7 separate regions of the Homo sapiens genome follow, and regions 2, 3, 4, 5, 6 and 7 are each linked to region 1. Evidence: promoter capture Hi-C in 16 types of primary human blood cells and fetal thymus (Javierre and others, 2016). All regions are on one chromosome and are shown on one strand. The core of a region is centred on a gene start or on the middle of the fragment in contact, and the rest is flanking DNA. Distances in the headings are between cores, read along the strand shown.

What was found. Contacts are between HindIII fragments. The CHiCAGO score rates a contact against its expected background, and 5 or more counts as called.
Region 2: a contact is called between a fragment that was not itself captured here and the fragment with the promoter of COL28A1 in region 1, in 1 of 17 cell types (non-activated CD4 T cells). The highest score is 5.2, in non-activated CD4 T cells.
Region 3: a fragment that was not itself captured here is called in contact with the fragment with the promoter of COL28A1 in region 1 in 9 of 17 cell types (naive B cells, total B cells, naive CD4 T cells and 6 more); the score reaches 19.5 in naive B cells.
Region 4: a fragment that was not itself captured here is called in contact with the fragment with the promoter of COL28A1 in region 1 in 1 of 17 cell types (naive B cells); the score reaches 5.1 in naive B cells.
Region 5: a contact is called between a fragment that was not itself captured here and the fragment with the promoter of COL28A1 in region 1, in 1 of 17 cell types (naive B cells). The highest score is 5.9, in naive B cells.
Region 6: a fragment that was not itself captured here is called in contact with the fragment with the promoter of COL28A1 in region 1 in 4 of 17 cell types (total B cells, naive CD8 T cells, total CD4 T cells and 1 more); the score reaches 7.2 in total B cells.
Region 7: a contact is called between a fragment that was not itself captured here and the fragment with the promoter of COL28A1 in region 1, in 3 of 17 cell types (total B cells, naive B cells and non-activated CD4 T cells). The highest score is 6.0, in total B cells.

What each region holds. Positions count from the first base shown.
Region 1 is chr7:7,534,362-7,537,252 of GRCh38, forward strand. It overlaps COL28A1 (collagen type XXVIII alpha 1 chain), which reads right to left and starts at 1,512. Exons shown (of 35, transcript NM_001037763.3): 1 at 1,389-1,512. The HindIII fragment of the contact is 1,663 bases long and covers 1,284-2,891 here.
Region 2 is chr7:7,142,994-7,145,884 of GRCh38, forward strand. No RefSeq gene overlaps it. Among named protein-coding and RNA genes, the nearest start is that of C1GALT1, 38 kb to the right of the region's middle. The HindIII fragment of the contact is 189 bases long and covers 1,403-1,591 here.
Region 3 is chr7:7,164,314-7,167,204 of GRCh38, forward strand. It overlaps a transcript of C1GALT1 not described here. Among named protein-coding and RNA genes, the nearest start is that of C1GALT1, 17 kb to the right of the region's middle. The HindIII fragment of the contact is 190 bases long and covers 1,269-1,458 here.
Region 4 is chr7:7,192,107-7,194,997 of GRCh38, forward strand. All of the region lies in intron 1 of C1GALT1 (core 1 synthase, glycoprotein-N-acetylgalactosamine 3-beta-galactosyltransferase 1), which reads left to right. Among named protein-coding and RNA genes, the nearest start is that of C1GALT1, 11 kb to the left of the region's middle. The HindIII fragment of the contact is 6,809 bases long and covers 1-2,891 here.
Region 5 is chr7:7,209,585-7,212,475 of GRCh38, forward strand. The region is part of intron 1 of C1GALT1 (core 1 synthase, glycoprotein-N-acetylgalactosamine 3-beta-galactosyltransferase 1); the gene reads left to right. Among named protein-coding and RNA genes, the nearest start is that of C1GALT1, 28 kb to the left of the region's middle. RefSeq lists enhancers at 1-400, 401-971, 972-1,543. The HindIII fragment of the contact is 1,305 bases long and covers 786-2,090 here.
Region 6 is chr7:7,227,904-7,230,794 of GRCh38, forward strand. All of the region lies in intron 1 of C1GALT1 (core 1 synthase, glycoprotein-N-acetylgalactosamine 3-beta-galactosyltransferase 1), which reads left to right. Among named protein-coding and RNA genes, the nearest start is that of LINC03016, 26 kb to the right of the region's middle. The HindIII fragment of the contact is 2,026 bases long and covers 441-2,466 here.
Region 7 is chr7:7,260,443-7,263,333 of GRCh38, forward strand. All of the region lies in intron 2 of LINC03016 (long intergenic non-protein coding RNA 3016), which reads left to right. Among named protein-coding and RNA genes, the nearest start is that of LINC03016, 6.7 kb to the left of the region's middle. The HindIII fragment of the contact is 2,167 bases long and covers 356-2,522 here.

The DNA of each region.
Region 1 (2,891 bases), core at 262-2,761:
GTCCCTTTGCTAACCAAGGAAAAAAATAAATGATGTACAACTTTAAGTCTGAAGGTTAGTGTAAAGATAAGGCTATGTGAAAAACACAGTTGTTATTGCATTTTCAAAGGGGAAAGGGAATAACACCATGGCCATGGTATTACATATGACTTTTCTCTTTGGTTGAGTTCATACCATAAGGAACATCTCAGAAGTTCTGGAAATAAGAGGCTGAGAACTGAATTCCATTGAGAACTGAGCAAGATTTTATAAGCAACATAATCAAGCAACTCTTCAAAACCCTTCATGTAAGGTTTTAGAAATACTGGCTTTAAATAAAGATTTATCTTTTCCCAAAACTAAGCACCTGCTCTTACTGTTTTCTTGGCATATAATCATGAATTTGTACCTGATCCCTGTATATATGATATTCACAAACATAACTTTTCCATTGACAATAATCCCAGTATCTCATATTTTGTTCTTATTTGCTCTGACATTGTTAATCTAGCTCTCCCAAACCAAAGTCTTGTTATTTCTTTCTGTTTCCCTATTGTAGCCAGAGGACATTTTCATACCTCTCTAGATTTGTTTCTCTAGCTTGTTAGTTCTACTGCTTCCCTGAAATATCTTTCTCGTTTATTAATTTGGCATCTTGAGAGCCCACTCATTTCTAATCACTTTTTACCATGTTTTATTTTGCCTCTGTTTTTAATAATTCTCACCTTTCTCTCTTTCTGATGTCACGTACAAGCAAAATAGGTTTCAGAGGAAACAGTGCCATTAGTTAAGTGAAAGAAATGTGAACCTCTGTGTTTACTATAGGTTACATTTTATAAATGCAGAAACAATCATAATTATTAATCAAATACCGTAGTTTTACTTTTGGCCTAAAATTTATTTGGGGTAAATATCAGGATCAGTAAATAAATCCAAGATACTTTATTTTTTATAATTTTTCAAAAATAAAATGATCTTATATCAGAGTTCACCAACTTTAGTTACAATGTTTGCATCTCAGTTTCTACACAAATAGAAAATGATTGAATAAAGACTTTATTCAAATTGACAAATTAGCCAAGTTGTAAAGTATTCTATAACTAATTCTGAATTGTAAACCCTGTTCCAAATTAAGAAAAAGATGTCCTAAAATATATTAACATCGTTGTAAAACAATTTAGAAGACTGTAAATTAAAAATCCATTTCAAAATAATTTTAAGTTTTAAATTTCTACATTTTAACAATGTTAATATTTTTCTAATAATTGATTTGAAGTAATTGCAGAGAATACAAACTATTGACAAGCTTTCTCACCTAATAATTATGTAAGTAAGTCATTTAGTCTTCCACAGTTCCTTGATGGTCCTATCTGATTTCAAGTGACTAAAATAAATCTGTTATGTCTTACCTTATAAAGTTTGTCAAACAGGAATTAAAGACTAGTTGAGTAAATGCCAACAGCAAGGACTGTGGTTGGGGGTGAAGTTAGCTATTTGATATTGTTCTGTTCTGTGGGAAATAAAAGTGTCTTTGCTTTAGGATCTTTTGCAGTCTTTTGTTCATGTTTATTCGACTAAGTCAAAGCAAGAGTGGTCAGGCATTTGGCCAGGGTGCAAGATCTGGGTGGGATCAGTAAGCAATTTAAAGGAACAGTGTCCTTTCAGAATGAGACTGTGTTTTCCAGACTATTGTAAAAACAACTTGAGAGAACTTTCTACATTTTAGGCATTGGTTGACAGCCTGCCTTTTTTTCTCATGCTATGTCCTTCTCTTTTTATTGCTACATTTCTTTGCCTGGGGGATGTGCTCTAAGATACTGGTTCTGAACATCTCTGTGAAGGAGTATAAATGACACCAGACTCAGAATCAAAGCTGTTTTTTTAAGAGAGGTAACAGTTTGATTGTTATTAAAGCTGGATGATGAGTACATAGGTGTGCATTGTTCTAGTCTTTGTATTTCTGTGATTTTTGAAATTTTTTATAATAAAAGGTATATATAATATACAGGGAAAGAGTGGTCTGAGTATAGTCATAGTTCTGCCCCTAACTTTTATGGGGGCTTCAGTTCCCCACTTATGAAATGAGAGAGTAGATTTAATCATTTATTAAGATGTGTTCGAACTGTAACATGAGAGGTTTACAGCGGTTAATATTTTGGTCTCTCTCTAGGAAAGGATCACTGTGGTTTTTCCACTCCCTGTTTCCCTATTTTCTACCTTGTGGTTATGGTCCATATTAAGTCAATGTTTATCATGTAATATATACTGCCAAGAAGCCACCTGACCCCTAGACAGCTAACAGGCAGGCTTCTCCACGGACTTCCTCTGAAATAGAGAATAGCAAGATCATCCGAGAAAGCAATACAAATGTGCATGTTACGGTTATTTAAAATGAACTTTCTTAGCCATTTTAATGTGTATGAATTTCCTTATTACAGCAATAATAGCCTCCAATTCATGGACACTTACCAGGTGCTAGGCACTGTCCTGAGTGCTTCACACACATTACCTCATTTAATCCTTCACAAGCACAACCACCTATATACAGTAAGTCCTCACTTAATGTCCTCTGTAGGTTCTGGAAACTGTGACATAAAGTGAAACAATTGATAATGAAGACAATTTTCCCAAGAGCTAATTGATATAAATAAGAGTTAAGCTCTTATGGCATATTCCTAGTCACAAAAACATCACTAAACCTCTAAATACTCAAAACACCTCTAATAATAAACATTGAAATAAATCTAAGCTATATATACATTTATGAAAGATTGATAAAAACAAGATAACTGCTTACCTGCATATTCCAGTTCAGGGTCACGGTTGACCAGATCCTGTCCCAGCAGCTGAGGATACAAGGCAGGAACCAGCCCTGGACAGGATGCAGTACTGTCAAAGGGCACTCATACACC
Region 2 (2,891 bases), core at 247-2,746, 390 kb before region 1:
CTTCCAACTATGTGGTAAGTTTTGGAATAAGTGTGATGTGGTGCTGAGAAGAATGTATATTCTGTTGATTTGGGGTGGAGAGTTCTGTAGATGTCTATTAGGTCCACTTGGTGCAGAGCTGAGTTCAAGTCCTGGATATCCCTGTTAACCTTCTGTCTCATTGATCTGTCTAATATTAACAGTGGGGTGTTAAAGTCTGCTATTATTATTGTGTGGGCATCTAAGTCTCTTTGTAGGTCTCTAAGGACTTGCTTTATGAATCTGGGTGCTCCTGTATTGGGTGCATATATATTTAGGATAGTTAGCTCTTCTTGTTGAATTGATCCCTTTACCATTATGTAATGGCCTTCTTTGTCTCTTTGGATCTTTGTTGGTTTAAAGTCTGTTTTATCGGAAACTAGGATTGCAACCCCTGCTTTTTTTTTTTTTTTTTTTTTTTTGCTTTCTTTTTGCTTGGTAGATCTTTCTCCATCCCTTTATTTTCAGCCTATGTGTGTCTCTGCATGTGAGATGGGTCTCCAGAATACAGCACGCTGATGGGTCTTGACTCTTTATCTAATTTGTCAGTCTGTGTCTTTTAATTGGAGAATTTAGCCCATTTACATTTAAGGTTAATATTGTTATGTGTGAATTTGATCCTGTCATTATGATGTTAGCTGGTTATTTTACCCATTAGTTGATGCAGTTTCTTCCTAGCATTGATGGTCTTTACAACTGGGCTTTTTTGCAGTGGCTGGTACTGGTTGTTCCTTTCCATGTTTAGTGCTTCCTTCAGGAGCTCTTGTAAGGAGGCCTAGTGATGACAAAATCTCTCAGCATTTGCTTGTGTGTAAAGGATTTTATTTCTCCTTCACTTATGAAGCTTAGTTTGGCTGGATATGAAATTCTGGATTGAAAATAGTTTTCTTTAAGAATGTAGAATATTGTCCCCCACTCTCTTTTGGCTTGTAGGGTTGCTGCCAAGAGATCTGCTGTTAGTCTGATGGGCTTCCCTTTGTGGGTAACCTGACCTTTCTCTCTGGCTGTCTTTAACATTTTTTCCTTCATTTCAACCTTGGTGAATCTGACAATTATGTGTCTTGGGGTTGCTCTTCTCAAGAAGTATCTTTGTGATGTTCTCTGTATTTCCTGTATTTGAATATTGGCCTGCCTTGCTAGGTTGGAGAAGTTCTCCTGGATAATATCCTGAAAAGTGTTTTCCAGCATGGTTCCATTCTCCCTGTCACTTTCAGGTACACCAATCAAACATAGATTTGGTCTTTTCACATAGTCCCATATTTCTTGGAGGCTTTTTTCATTTCTTTTTACTTGTTTTTCTCTAAACTTCTCTTCTCACTTCATTTCATTAATTTGATCTCAATCACTGATACCCTTTCATCCACTTGATCAAATCAACTACTGAAGCTTATGCCTACATCACATAGTTCTCGTGCCATTGTTTTCAGCTCCATCAGGTCATTTAAGGACTTCTCCATACTGTTTATTCTAGTTAGCCATTTGTCTAATCTTTTTTCAAGGTTTTTAGCTTCCTTGCAATGGGTTCAAGCATCCTCCTTTAGCTTGGAGAAGTTTGTTATTACCGACCTTCTGAAGCTTAATTCTGTAAATTCGTCAAAGTCATTCTCCATCCAGCTTTGTTCCATTGCTGGTGAGGAGCTGCGATCCTTTGGAGGAAAAGAGGTGCTCTGGTTTTTAGAATTTTCAGCTTTTCTGCTCTGGATTCTCCCCATCTTTGTGGTTTTATCTACCTTTGGTCTTTGATGATGGTGACCTACAAATGGGGTTTCGGTGCAGATGTCCTTTTTGTTGATGTTGATGCTATTCCTTTCTGTTTGTTAGTTTTCCTTCTAACAGTCACGTCCCTCAGCTGCACGTCTGTTGGAGTATGCTGGAGGTCCACTCCAGACCCTGTTTGCCTGGGTATCATCAGCAGAGGCCACAGAACAGCAATATTGCAGGACAGCAAATATTGCTGCCTGATCCTTCCTCTGGAAGCTTTGTCTGTGAGGGGCACTTGGCTGTATGAGGTGTCAGTCAGCCCTTACTGGGAGGTGTCTCCCAGTTAGGCTATACAGGGTTCAGGGACCCACTTGAGGATGCAGTCTGTCCATTCTCAGAGCTCAAACACTGTGCTGAGAGAAGCACTGCTCTCTTCAGAGCTGTCAGACAGGGACGTTTAAGTCTGCAGAAGTTTCTGCTGTCTTTTTTTCAGCTATGCCCTGCCCCAGAGGTGGAGTCTACAGAGGCAGGTAGGCCTTGTTGAGCTGCAGTGGGCTCCACCCAGTTCGAGCTTTCCAGCTGCTTTGTTTACCTATTCAATCCTCAGCAATGGTGGCTGCCCCTCCCCCAGCCAGGCTGCCTCCTTGCAGTTTCATCTCAGACTGCTGTGCTAGCAGTGAGCAAGGCTCTGTGGGTGTGGGACCCACTGAACCAGGCACAGGATATAATCTCCTGGTGTGCCATTTGCTAAGACCATTGGAAAAGTGCAGTATTTGGGTGGCAGTGTCCAATTTTCCCGGTAGAGTCTGTCACGGCTTCCCTTGGCTAGGAAAGGGAAATCCCCCAACCCCTTGTGCTTCCCAGGTGAGGTGATGCCCCGCTCTGCTTCGGCTCGCCTCTGTGGGCTGCACCCACTGTCCAACCAGTCCCAGTGAGATGAACCAGGTACCTCAGTTGGAAATGCAGAAATCACCCATCTTCTGCAACAATCATGCCGGGAGTTGCAGACTGGAGCTGTTCCTATTCAGCCATCTTCAATGTTTTCCTGACGTTCCCTCTGTTTTAATCTTCACAACAAAAAGTCACCTGCAGCCAGGTGCGGTGGCTCACACCTGTAATCCCAGCACTTTGGCAGGCTGAGGCAGGTGGATCACGAGGTCAGGAGATCGAGA
Region 3 (2,891 bases), core at 114-2,613, 370 kb before region 1:
ATGTGGAACATTAATGTTAACGGGTCTATGATGTATGAAGAGCTAACTCTAAGTAAGCAGAAGTAAGTCAAATTCTATAACCTATTGATCTGAGATACCTAAAAAGGAGCTTGGATTTCAGGAGGATTGGGATACAGCTCTCCTCTTGCTTTACATTTTGCCATAGGCTGGGTTTTCCAGAAAACAGACTCTGAAATGGAGATCAGCATGTAGAAAGTTTATTAGGGAAGACTTTTAAGATCAGCACCTGTGCATGGAAAGAGACAGAAGCAGGATTGGACAGTGGGAAAAGTTGAGCTGTGATATAGTCTTAAAGTCCTCAGTCAACCCGACGAGGAACTCTGAAGGTGGAATGGCCCTAAAGAGTATCACAGGTCAGGGAAGGAAAGCTCTATTTTTAATACCCCTATGTTGATCAGTCATTGGATGTGGGTGCCTGAGGGGGCATGGCTTTAAGTTGTTTGCACCTGAGGCAGTTCCCTGAGAGGGCTGTAAGCTGAAGGTCATCTGCTGGCAGCACTCCCAATAGTTGTGGAAATAAATCTTTCTGTCCTGAAGGAGGAACAGGGCAAACCATTACAGTGTTCACCTTGGGTTTGCTGCCTTTGATTGCATGTAAATATTATTTTGTATTATTTAAGATGTGTAGGGTGAGTAAAATGCCCTAGAAACCCTAGGAAAGATTAACCTTGCCTGTCAACTTTATTCATTTATGTGTTTCTTTTAGATTTGAAAGCCTCAGAGAAGGACCAAACAGTGCCTGAGAAGTTTGAATTTAGAATAAAAGGTTGGTCTGGCATTTTTATGTGAACAGAACTAGAAACCACAGTAGCCAGGAAGAGAAGATGGCCAGATAACTGAAAGACAGAAGGCAGGTTAGGAAGGAGCTCAGGCCAGGTTGTGCCCACCCATCTGTGTTAGAAGATGGTGATCCTTGTGCAAGCAGATATGGAACTAAATAAAGCCCCTTTACTCACTGTGGTGGGATTATGTGGAATAAAGCACGCATCTAGGAGCCTTGACTATTTTTCCATTGCTTCCTTTTACATAATTATACCCATTTAATTTATCCTTTAATTTTTGTGAATGCATCACTCTATTTCAGTTACGCTAAGGGAATAAGAAAAAAATTGTGTCCATATTTGGATTAAAGAGAAAAGACAAACATCATATCCATGGGGTGCAGATGAGACAGGTGTAGGAGAAATCAAAGTGAGAAAGATTAAGAGGACGTTTCAGTGTAGGAAGCTCTAGATGCAAGAATTCAAAGCTTTCAAGACAGGAAGAAAGAGTCCAGAAAGGCATGTACTGCTATATCTTTTCTCATTTCCTTCTCCGATATGTTCCCTTTCAGGAGAAAAAAAAATGAATAGTTGTAAGCACCAATTTATGATCACATGGTACCAGTTGAGCATCTGTAATCCAAAAACCCAAAATCTGAAATGGTCTAAAATCCAAAGCTTTTTGAGCATCAACATGATGCTACGAGTGGAAAATTCCACACCTAATGTTATGTGATGAGTCACAGTCAAAATAGAAAAACTCATTTCATGCACAAAATTTTTGAAAATATTGTATAAAATTACCATCAGGTTATGTGTATAAGGTGCATATGAAACATACATTTCATGTTTAGACTTGGGTCCCATCCCAGAGATATTTCATTATGTATATGCAAATATTCCAAAAGTTCAAAAACTCTGAAGTCCAAAATACTTCTGGTCCCAGGCACTTGAGATAAGGGACACCTGTACCAGGCGTGTTCACGTTCTCTCATTTACTGATAACAACCATGTGAAAAAAACGTATATTACTGCCATTTTATCATGAGAAAAACCAAGACTCAGGGAGAATAATTAGGTTTCCTAAGCCCACACAATAAGTGATGGAACTGGGAAGAGAGTGTAGCACAGGTTTAGGGTGAGAAACAATTGGATTAAATGTCCTTCAGTATTTGAATGAATACAAAAATTGTGGTATATTCTTATAATAGAATATTACTGAACAATAAAAAGTAATAAACTATTGATAAACATAACAATATGGTTTAATTTCAAAGTAACAATGCCAGTGAATAAAACCAGATATGAAAAAGCACATAATGTATGATATCATTTTTATAACTCTAGAAAATGCAAACTAATCTCTATTGACAGAAAGCAGATCAGTGGTTGCTTGGAGATGGGGCAGGGTGGGAAGTGGCAGGAGGAAACTTTTGGAGGTGATAGATACATTCATTATCTTGACTGCGGTGATAGTTTCATGGGTGTATACATATGTCACAACATCAAATTATGCACTTTATGTATACTTATTGAATGTCAATTATACCTCAATAAAGCAGTTAAAAACAACCGGGTTGAAATCCGTGTTATACTATTTACAAATTGCTTAATCTCTAAGACTACATTTTTTAAAAATCAGTTAAATGGAGTTGCTAATGCCTACCACAGAGGGTTGGTGTAAACATTAAATCAGTAAGGCAAGTGCTTAGCACACTGTGTAATACAATAGTAAGCATGCCGCAGTAGTTATACAAGGAGTCCTAGACTGAGTTCTTCCTTCTTAGAGCTTTCTCCACTTTAACTAATCATGTTAGTCCTTTTTATTTACAGCTGGAATTCAAACACATCAATCTTACTTCAAAGACCAAGATCTTTCCACTAAACTGTGCTAAGCCATGACAAATTTTATGATTTGAATTGAGGAGGGCATGCCCTGATTGGACACCAGGCTCAGAGTATTCCACATAAATGCTCCTCTGTATTACCCCAGGGTCTGGAAAAGTCACTCTGGGCCAGGGAGGAAGACCAGTGGTTCAGCTGCATATTCTTTACCTATACTCCTTCAGATTCTATCTCTGCTCCTTTTTCAGATCCCTACTGGCTAAA
Region 4 (2,891 bases), core at 271-2,770, 340 kb before region 1:
TTTAGGTCTTTGATCCATTTTGAGTTACTTTTTCTTCTTTTTTTTTTATTTCAATAGGCTTTTGGGGAACAGGTGGTGTTGGGTTACATGGATATGTTTTTTGGTAATGATTTTTGAGATTTGGGTGCACCCCTCACCCAAGCAGTGTACACAGTACCCAATGTGTAGTCATTTATCCCTCACCCCCTCCCACCCTTTACTTCAAGTTCCCAAAGTCCATTGTATCATTCTATGCCTTTGCATCCTCATAGCTTAGTTCCCATTTATGAGTGACAACTTACAATGTTTGGTTTTCCATTCCTGAGTTACTTTACTTAGAATAATGGTCTCCACCTCCATCCAGGTTGCTGTGAATGCCATTATTTCATTATTTTTTATGGCTGAGTAGTATTCCGTGGTGTGTGTGTGTGTATATTATACATACCACATTTTCTTTATCCACTTGTTGATTGATGGGCATTTGGGTTGATTCCATATTTTTGCAGTTACAAATTGTGTTGCTATAAATGTGTGTTCAAGTGTGTTTTTCGTATAATGACTTCTTTTTCTCTGGGTAGATACCCAGTAGTGGGATTGCTGGGTCAAATGTTAGATCTACTTTTGGTTCCTTAAGGAATCTCCACACCATTTTCCATAGTGGTTATACTAGTTTACATTCCCAGCAGCAGTGTAAAAGTTTTCCCTTTTTACCACATTGATGCCAACATCTATTATTTTTTGATTTTTTGATTATGGCCATTCTTGCAGGAGTAAGGTGGTATTGCATTGTGGTTTTGATTTGCATTTCCCTGATAATTAGTTGTGTTGAACATGTTTTCATATGTTTGTTGAACACTTGTATATCTTCTTTTGGGAATTGTCTATTCATGTCCTTAGCCCACTTTTTGATGGGATTGTTTGTTTTTTTTCTTGCTGATTTGTTTGGTTTTTTTGTAGATTCTGGATATTAGACCTTTGTCAGATGCATAGTTTACCAAGATTTTCTCCACTCTGTGGGTTGTCTGTTTACTGATTATTTCCTTTGCTGTGCAGAATCTTTTTAGTTTAATTAAGTCCCATCTATTTGTCTTTGTTTTTGTTGAATTTGTTTTTGGGTTCATGGTCAGGAAGTCTTTGCCTAAGCCAATGTCTAGAAGGGTTTTTCTGATGATATCTTCTGGGACTTTTATGGTTTCAGGTCTTAAAAGATTTAAGTCTTTGATCTAATCTTGAGTTCATTTTTGTGTAAGGTGAGAGATGAGGATCCAGTTTCATTCTTCTACATGTGGCTTGCCAGTTACCCCAGTACCATCTGTTGAATAGGGTGTCCTTTCCCCACTTTACGTTTGTGTTTGCTTTGTCAAAGATCAGTTGGCTGTTAAGTATTTGGCTTTATTTCTGGGTTCTGTATTCTGTTTCATTGGTCTATGTGCCTATTTTTATACCAGTACCATGCTGTTTCGGTAACTATAGCCTTTTAGTTTAGTTTGAAGTCGGGTAATGTGATACATCCAGATTTGTGGGTTTTGGGGGGTTGTTTTTGTTTTTGCTGAGTCTTGATTTGGCTATGTGTGTTCCTTTTCAGTTTCATATGAATTTTAGGATTGTTCTCCCTAGCTCTGCAAAGAATGATGGTGACATTTTGATAGGAATTACATTGAATCCGTAGATTGCTTTTGGCAGTATGATCATTTTCACAATATTGATTCTACCCATCCATGAGCATGGAATGTGTTTCCATTTGTTTGTGTCATTTTCAATTTCTTTCAGCAGTGTTTTGTAGTTTTTCTTGTAGATGTCTTTCACTTCCTTAGGTATATTCCTAAGTATTTTATTTTTTTTTTGCAGACATAGTAAAAGAGTTTGAGTTCTTGATTTGATTTGCAGCTTGGTTGCTGTTAGTGTATAGCAATGCCACCGATTTGTGTACATTAATTTTGTGTCCTGAAACTTTACTGAATTCATTTGCCAGTTCTAGGAGCTTTTTGGATGAATCTTTAGGGTTTTCTTGGTGTATGATCATATCATCAGCAAACAGCAACAGTTCGACTTCCTCTTTACTGATTTGATGCCCTTTATTTCCTTGTCTTGTCTGATCCCTCTGGCTAGGACTTCCAGTACTATGTTGAATAGAAGTAGTGAGACTGGGCATCCCTGTCTTGTTCCAGATCTCAGGGGAAATGCTTTCAACCTTTCTCCATTCAGTATAATGTTAGCTGTAGGTTTGTCATAGATGGCTTTTATTACCTTAAGGCATCTCCTTTCTATGCCAATTTTGCTGAGTGTTTTAATTATAAAGGGACACTGGATTTTGCCAAATGCCTTTTCTGTGTCTATTGAGATGATTATGTGATTTTTGTTTTTAATTGTTTATGTGGTACATCACAATTATTGACTTGGGTATGTTAAACCATCCCTGCACGCCTGGCATGAAACCCACTTGATAATGGTGTGTTATCTTTCTGATATGCTGTTGGATTCGGCTAGCTAGTATTTTGTTGAGGATTTTTGCATCTATGTTCATCAGGGATATTGGCCTGTAGTTTTCTTTTTTTTTGTTATATTATTTACTGGTTTTAGTATTAGGGTGATACTGGCTTCATAGAATGAATTAGGGAGGGTTTCCTCTTTCTCTGTATTGTGGGATAGTGTCAATAGGATTGGTATCAGTTCTTCTTTGAATATTGGATAGAATTTAGCTGTGAATCCATCTGATTCTGGACTTTTTGTTTGTTGGCAGTTTTAATTACCATTTCAGTCTTGCTGCTTGCTGTTGGTCTGTTCAGAGTTTCTATTTCTTCCTGGTTTAATCTAGGAGGGTTGTATGTTTTCAGGAATTCACCCATCTCCTCTCGATTTTCTAGTTTGTGAGCATAAAGGGGTTCATAGTAGCCTTGAATGATCTTTTGTAT
Region 5 (2,891 bases), core at 188-2,687, 320 kb before region 1:
TGAACCTTGTAATGGATAAGGATCAGCCTACTCCTGGGACAGGCAGATAGGACATTCGTGGAGAAAGAATATTGGATGTTCCTAGAAAGTTTTCAGTGTGATAAAGCAGTATAATTTTCTCCCAACCTTGGGTATTGTAGAACCTTTCACTCACGTCCGTGTGAAGAGACCACCAAACAGGCTTTGTGTGAACAATAAAGCTTTTTATTTCACCTGGGTGCAGGCGGGCTGAGTGCGAAAGGAGAGTCAGCGAAGGGAGATGGGGTGGGGCCGTTTTATAAAACGGCCTATTTATAAAAATAGGATTTGGGTAGGTAGTGGAAAATTACAGTCAAAGGGAGTTGTTCTCTGGCGGGCAGGGGCGGGGGACACAAGGTGCTCAGTGGGGGAGCTTTTGAGCCAGGATGAGCCAGGGGAAGGAATTTCACAAGGTAATGTCATCAGTTAAGGGAGGAACAGGCCATTTTCACTTCTTTTGTGATTTTTCAGTTACTTCAGGCCATCTGGATGTATACGTGCAGGTCACAGGGGATATGATGGCTTAGCTTGGGCTCAGAGGCCTGACAGAACCTGTTGAGGTTGCAAAAAATATTTGTGACTCTTGGAACAGTAACAAAAAGTTGTTCTGACTTTTTATTTTCTGAACCTGGAATTGTGGGACTATTTTAAAGGGTATAATTTCAACTGGAGACTTGGGGAGCTTGATTTTGACTTGATTGCGAAGCATCTGTATAGCTCATGTTGTATGTCCAGTTTATGGCTTTGTATTATAGAAATGTATTTAAAGCTTCAAATGATGAGACCATGCATAATTTCATGGTGGGCAGATTCTTTTTTTTTTTTTTTTTTTTTGGTTTTAAGGAGCGGAGAGTTTAATAGGCCAGACAGAAGGGAGAAGGCAGAAGGAAGAAGCTCCCCCGTACAGAGACAGAGGGAGGGAGGCTCCAAAGCCAAGAGAAGGGATCCCCAAGTGCGGTGGACACCAGCCAGGTATATATGCAGAGGCTGGAGAAGGTGGTGTTCGATTTGCATAGGGCTCCGGGGATTGGGTTGACTAGGCGCATCATTCACATAGCTCATGAAAAAGCTGGCTCTTCCACCCTGGTCTTTTAATATGCAAATACATGGCGCCATGATGTTCTACGCTCGTCGGGATTCCAGGAACATGTAGGGCAAGGGCAAGAAGGCTGTGGGAATCTCCATGTTTGGGTGGACCCAGTTTCTAATGGCCTAAATTTGCATATGAAAGGTTGCTGGCCTGGCTTTAACAGCCGTGGCTTTACAAGAAACTTTTCTGGAGATGCTTTAAAAAATGAAAACTTTCCAAGGACCCCTTTTTCTTCTCTGCCTAAAATAATTTCTTAATAACTCCTACAACATTCCCGCCTGTGGAGATGCCACACTAACTGCTGTTAGAGGGTTTTGGGCAACAACTCCTTCTGGCTACTTACTGCTGAAAAGGGGCATCATATGGGGAACAGCAACTAGGGCTCCTCCTGGGGTTGATCTAAGGATCCTCGGAAGAATGGCATGTCCATGTGTGGATCAGTTTGCAGCACCATTTGGAGATTGATTGCTTCTAGGTGAGAGTTACAGTATTGAGTATACAGGGCCCAGATATCAATACAAGACATATAAACAAGAGAAGGCTTAAAAAAGGAGTTAACCAATTCCTTAAGGAAGACTGGAATGTATTAAAGAAGAATTTGTAGCCACCCGGGGCTGAAGCTGGCGTTTTCCCTGAGCCTGTCAATAATTTTGATTTGATCTTTAAGTACCTGTAGATTTTTCTCTACTTTACTAGAGGTGTTAATCACCCCTAAACCCAAAAAAAGTCCTAGCAGACTCAGTGATAGTAAAACTTTCATGCTTCCTTGTCAGTAACTATTATTCCTGCTCTAAGGATAATAATTAAGCAAAATACAACAGCAATGGAAACTCTGTCCAATATTTCAGTTAGAAGGTGCTACCGTGTGTATCCCTATTGCAAACAGTAGAGTGAGTATAGCAGTTCCCACAAGTGTGGTGTAGTAGATAATTTCCATCTAAAATTTTACTTGCCAAGATAATTTCCCTTTGGTGGTCTATGAAGCTTTGGTTTTATTTTCCTAAACAAAGAAACCTTCGGGTTATGGATACCCTACTTACTTTTATTACCTGGCAGAATTTGCAGGATAATTTCCCACAATTAGTATAGTGATTCAGATTTTTACATTACCCATCCCTTTTTCTTTCTTCCAAGCTGCAGAAGATTACCACTTGAGTCACAGGAATAAGCAGGGTTAATTTAAAATGTAGGCAAAAAGCTTAAAAACAATTAATGAGACTAGGATTTAATGACAAATGTATGATAAGCTTTGGAGCAAAATTTTCTCTCCAGTTCTCATTTTTGGTAAAAGCTAATTGTGAATGAACTTTAGTCTTATACTTGGCCTGATTATTTGCATGAAGTGTTAGCAAGAATGGTTATTTCTACATAGGTCTTTTGGATGGCTTTGATAAAACTCAGTTCCACAAGGAATCTTAGATAAGACCTTTAAAGCCTAGGCCAGCAATGGGTTTCTATCCTCAAATACCTGTGAGTTAGGTGATCCTCTCTTCTTGAGGTCCCAAGAAACTCGGAGCTTCCAGACCTGTTAGAAAGTGACGTTCTTTACTGACCACAGGTTAGGAGCCCTGTGCGGGGACTGTGTAGACAAGGTATGATGCCAGTTCTCCCAGGGGCTTTTTATTGGCTCTGCGTGTCAAGCTTGATTCCTTAAAGGGAAACACACCCTTTCAGTCAAAGCCTTGGTATAATAACCAGTTTTTCCAATTGTGTCCTGTTGAGAAAGAAAAATGGATTCTTACTGCACTAATGCAAACAACTATATTGCCATAAGTTAAGAGTA
Region 6 (2,891 bases), core at 204-2,703, 310 kb before region 1:
AATAAATGCTTTCTCTTTATAAATTACCCAGTTTCAGTTGTTCTGTTATAAATACCAGAAAATGGACTAAGACATAATAGCAAAGTGGTTAAGAGTCTGAATTCCTGATTCAGATTGCTAGTGTGACTCTCTGTGTCTGAATTCATCTGTAAATGGGAATACTAGTCCGTACTTTATAGTTTGCAGATGCTCTTAGTACAGGGTTCAAATGTTAACTGTAATTACCTCTCCTATTTTTGTTATTGCTAGAGAGAAACCTGTAATGATAATCACAAAATATTAATAATTGTTGTTTCTGGGTAGTAGGACTTGTGATGATTTCTTCCTTCTAAATCCTTTTTTAACAATGAATAGCATAAAGCTGTCCCTTTAAAAATAAAATTAAAATATAAATTTTAGTTGTCCCGGGAGTTCTTTTGTATCTGAAACCTCAGTTGTCAAGCTTGGAAATCTGTACTTTTAAAATATCCTCAAGCGATTCTGATTACACATCAGGTTTGGAAGCACTTGGCATAAAGAACTTCCCCCACCCAATTCAAAGAAATAGTATTTAAGCCCTCATAATGTGCAGTGTGGTTAAGCTGTGTCTTTTTCCAGTCTAGTCTACCTCAACACTCTTGTGGACATGATTTTTGCCAAAAATCTGAGTGAGCTTTGGGATGCATTCTACCCCCATGAGATGGCTATTTTATCCCAGGAGCAGGAAAAAAAAAAATGGGAGTTTACAGTTATTTAGTCATAAGGCCGGAGTCCTTTAAATTGGAAGGGAATGTGGTAAACACAACACAAGAGGAGCCAACACATTCTGAGTGTGCTGATACTCTGGGGGAGAAGAGTAAGAGAGTATGACAGGCATCAGACAGCATCACAAAACATTTTAAAGTTAAAAACAATTACGTAACACCAAGAAGTCAGTTTTCCTTACATTCACTCCAGGATAGATGCCTTGCTTAAAAAGTGCCTCTTCAGCTAAGAAAAACTGTGTCCATAAGTACTTCAGTAGCTTTCCACAAACAGTAACTGTTTTTGTGTTATAGAAGTAGGCTTGTTCTGAAGCTCAGCATGTCCTTGGAATATGATTGAGTAGCATGTTAGTATTCATAGTTGATGGAGCTGGGTTAGCACTTCTTTAACTTCAGATATCCATATGATGATAGAAATAGGAATTTTCTCTGGTCCTGCAGTCCTTCCTCTTCTCAGTCACAGTGCTTTCTGCCTAAGTGGTACTGAATGGCATTGTGACTACTGCTTTCTTCTCCAGTGCCAGGAGCGGTAGACTCTGCAGCAGTAAAATACTGTCTTTGTTCTTTTCTGAGATGGTGAAGTGGCTGTGTATGGTATTAAGGCAAAATCACAGCTAGGACAAAAAGCAATGGAAAACCAAGATCAGTGTGCTGTAAGGCAAAGTGTTAGTGAGAGAATCAGAGGATGTAGAGAGTGACAACTCAGTATCTGCTAATGCTCCAGGTTCACTGCTTCAATCGTATTCTGCTTGTCTTCCTCCATAAGAAATTAAGAGTTAAAACATCTTTCATTTACTTCTCTTGGCTTCATGTTTTCAATTCATGGTACTTTCATATCACATACCTCTATTGTAGATTGTCTTGATCATGTATACTGCTAAAGGAAGGACTTGTATAATATCGAACAGATACTTGACTAATCAGTTCTCTCTGGCTGTTTGAATGAAATTTCAAACCAAGATTTCTGGTTAGAGCAAGGTCTAATGAACTGGTCCTCAGACAATCGAGATATTTAGAATTTCAGAACAATCACTTAAGACAGGAGGGATATGTTTTATTGTATCTTTTGGATATAAAGATTACACTAACGGCCAACCTGAATGAGGGAAAGGGGGCAGTAGGGAGGCAGAATTTGAGACCCCCTCATCAGAGAAAACAGCAGAAAGACATGGTAAACTTGTTTCTGGTTTTCCTGTGGCAAATTTGATTGGGTGTAGAGAGAAGGATCGTTGAGTGGGGCTATGTACTCATCATCCATGAAGGCCTACCTTTCTGAACTTGAAGGTACAGTCAGGATAGAGCAAAAGGTGTAAACATGTATCTGATAGTTTCAGATGGTTAATTTACATCTCAAGATACTGGGCAGCTTTGCTTATACTGTGCTGTTCCTTCACCTCTCCTCTTCCTCTTAGGGTTTTTCTTCCCAAACTGGAATTACAATTCAGGAGAGAGCCTGAAATATAAGATATATAATGCAGCATAAGCATGGTGTGTTGTCATGGCATGTCAATTTTACTTGTAGATTTTGGGATATTTTTATATCAAATATGAATATATTAAGTATGTACTTAATGGGATAAAGACACATGAATGGGTTTTTGTATACACTTTTTACTGAAATAAATGTTAATACAGAAAAGTATGTAAAATCATAAATGTAGAGCTTAATGAATGTCACAGAGAACAAGCCATGTAACTACTAGTTTTTTTTGTGGTATCAATAAGCTTTCCTTTAATTACTGTTTGTATGGTATATTTTTCTATTATTTTGCTTTCAACTTTATAAATCTATTTAATATGTGTCTCTTGTAAGCTGCATGTAGATGAGTTTATTTTTCTCGAGTCTGGCTGGCAATCTTTATTTTTTAATTGTAGTTTTTAGTCTATTTGCTTTTAATATAATCATTGATATGTTTGGTTCTAAATCAACCACCTTACTATTTATTTTCTATTTGTCTCATCTATTCTATATTCCCTTTTTTTTTTTTTTTTTAACATTGCCTTGATTTGGGGTATTTTCCCATTTCATTTTTTTGTATTTGAATTTAATTATATTGTTTTACTGTTTGTTTGTTTAAAGATTATATTAGACATCCTTGGTCTTTTAAAGGCTATTATTAATCAGTTTTTTTTTTTTAAACAACTCCT
Region 7 (2,891 bases), core at 189-2,688, 270 kb before region 1:
AGGGTTTGGTTTTTTTGAAGTCTGTCATTAACCCTTCCCTCACTTTCCTTCTACTCTTCAAGTCCTATTACATTCATAGGAATGACTGATTTGCCCCCAGGTATTTTGCTGGTCCTGGGATCGCAGAGAGGAAAAGATACAATCCTGCCCGCAGGAACTCAGTGTATAGAGATGGCTTCTCCAACTTAACTATTACAGAGGGCTGATAATACTTTTCAGACATGTCGATCCAAAATGACCAATTAAGGATAAGGACTTGGAAGTAAAGAACATAACTCAAAGACAACAAATGCCCATTCACCAAAGATAAAGCCATGAACTGTCCAGGGCAAACGAGCTCGCCTTTTGGAGGCTAAGCTTCTTGTGGGAATTTGTAGAGTTTGGGGGAGGTCACTCAGTAACTTCTGTAATGAAAAGTTTTGTGGCAGCCAAGTGCAGTGGCTCACGCCTGTAATCCCAGCACTTTGGGAAGCCGAGGCGGGTGGATCCCTTGAGCCCAGGGGTTTGAGACCAGCCTGGGCAATATGATGAAACCTCATTTCTACTAGAAATACAAAAATTAGCCAGGCGTGTTGGCACACAGCTATAATCCCAGCTACTTGAGTGGCTGAGGCATGAGAATCAGTTGAGCCTGGGAGGTGGAGATCGCAGTGAGCCAAGATCGTGCCACTGCACCGCAGCCTGGGCAACAGAGCGAGACTCTTGTCTCAAAAAAAATAAAGAAGTTTTATTGGTAGTATTTGTTCTCTGTTAAGCCCATCTGTTGAGTTCTTGATTTCATTTATCAAGTTTTTCAATTCTAGAATTTCCATTTGGTTATTTTTTATATTTCCAGGTCTCTGCCAATGTCCTCAATCTTAATTTTTATTTCCTTAAACATTTTAAGCAAATCATTATAGAATCCATGTTGGATAGTCACATTATCAAGATCCCCTATTGGTCTAGGTCTATTGTCTGTTATTTTTTTGGTATTCAGTTACATTTTCTAGTTATTTTTGGTTGAATTCTGTCTTTGGCAAGAATATGTCAGTCACCTTTTGAATAGGATGAATGAATCTGTTACACCTTATGGAAGCCATAAAATCTATGCTGCCCCACATGGTGGCAATGGTGTATATACAAATGAAAATCTAAGAACCCCACTGACCTTCTGCTGACCAACATCGTAGTGAGGTAAAGAAGTCTCAGAGTTTAGCAAAGTATTATCCTTAAAGAATCAAATGAGATTGTAACCAGTTCATCTTGCCTGCTGCCCAGATACAGCCAATTTGTAAAGACAGGGAAGTGCAATAGAGAGAGATTTTAATATGCATAGAGCCAGCTAAATAGGAGACCAGAATTTTACTATTATTTAAATCAGCCTCCCCAAAAATTTGGAGGCTAGGATTTTTTAAAGACACTTTGGCAGGCATGAGTTAGTTCCTGGGTAGGGGCCACAAGACCAGATGAGTTGGTTTACCATTCTGGGTGGTGCCAGCTGATCCATCAGAATGCAGGGTCTAAAAGATATCTCAAGCACCAATCTTAGGTTTTATAGTAGTAATGTTATCTATAGGAGCAATTGGGGAGGTTAGTAATCTTGTAACCTCTGGGTGCATGACTCCTGAGTCATAATTTTTAATCTTATGGCCAATCTGTTGATTTTACAAAGGTGGCCTGGTCCCCAAGATACATTTTACCCAAGATGTAATATCACAGGAAACCAGAACCTTCCACTCAACCTCTCATACACAACTGGCTTTGTTAGTTTCCCACCACATTCAAGAGCACCTGATGCCCTAAACTGTTTAAGGTTGAATTAAGGAGTGCTCTTTTCAAACTATCCCAATTTCCATGAAAACCAAAGACAGCAGAAGACCTAGAAAATATTTATAGAATTGGGTATCTTGGGACATGAAACAAGTGGATACTTACATATGTGAATCTCACATGTCTTAATATCCAGACTAATTCCACCTTGACCTATTCTTACATACTATCTATTTTTCTCTTGGGAAGTTTTCTAATACTAGCTTAGCATCAGCATGTCTGTTTCAGTGAAATTAACACGTTAAAATATCCCCACTGGAGGTCAGTGAGTCAGGGCACATGCTGCTCTACAGAGGGGCCCAGTTACAACCTAAGGAGTAGCACTTCATCAGAGCTACCTCTTCAGGCCACATTCCCCACTACCTCAACCAACTGCTCCTCAGAAGAAGTAAGATGGATTTGTGGGAAATGATTTCCTTGAGCCATTTTTCCAAAGATAGTGGGGCATTCTTAAATGGTATTCATTTGAACATGGTATTCATTTGAACTTTGACATAATGCCATTATTTTGTAAATGCCATATCCTGGATAGCTAACTATGGCTGACAATCTACCCCTCATCATGACTGTGCTCAAATGCAGATATCTCTAGTGCATCATTGAACGAAAGGAATTTCACACACTTAAGCCTCTCTGAAATTTTCATCTTTCAATTGTTCACTTTTGTAACTTTTTTGTGGGGATGAAATTGACACTTTAAAAAGAAAAATTGAAGCTTGTGATGGGATTCTAAAATCTAAAAAATTTCCTTTCCAATCATATTTTAAACTGTTAGATCGTTTGCCCATTTATTGTCAATTTAACATGAAAACAGACACATGTGCACATGGACACATACACACAGGCACATGTGTTGAAGGCCTCTAGCAAGGTTGATGAGACTTGCTCAACTCTATTGCTAGCCACAGATGAGCATACAGGAAGGTCGTAGGACCCAAGTGTGTCCAACCCACAGCCTGTGGGCTGCATGTGGCCCAGGACGGCTTTGAATGTGGCCCAACACAAATTTGTAAACTTTCTTTAAAAAAAATTTTTTTTAAAGCTCATCATCTATTGTTAGTGTTAGTGTATTTTGTGTGTGG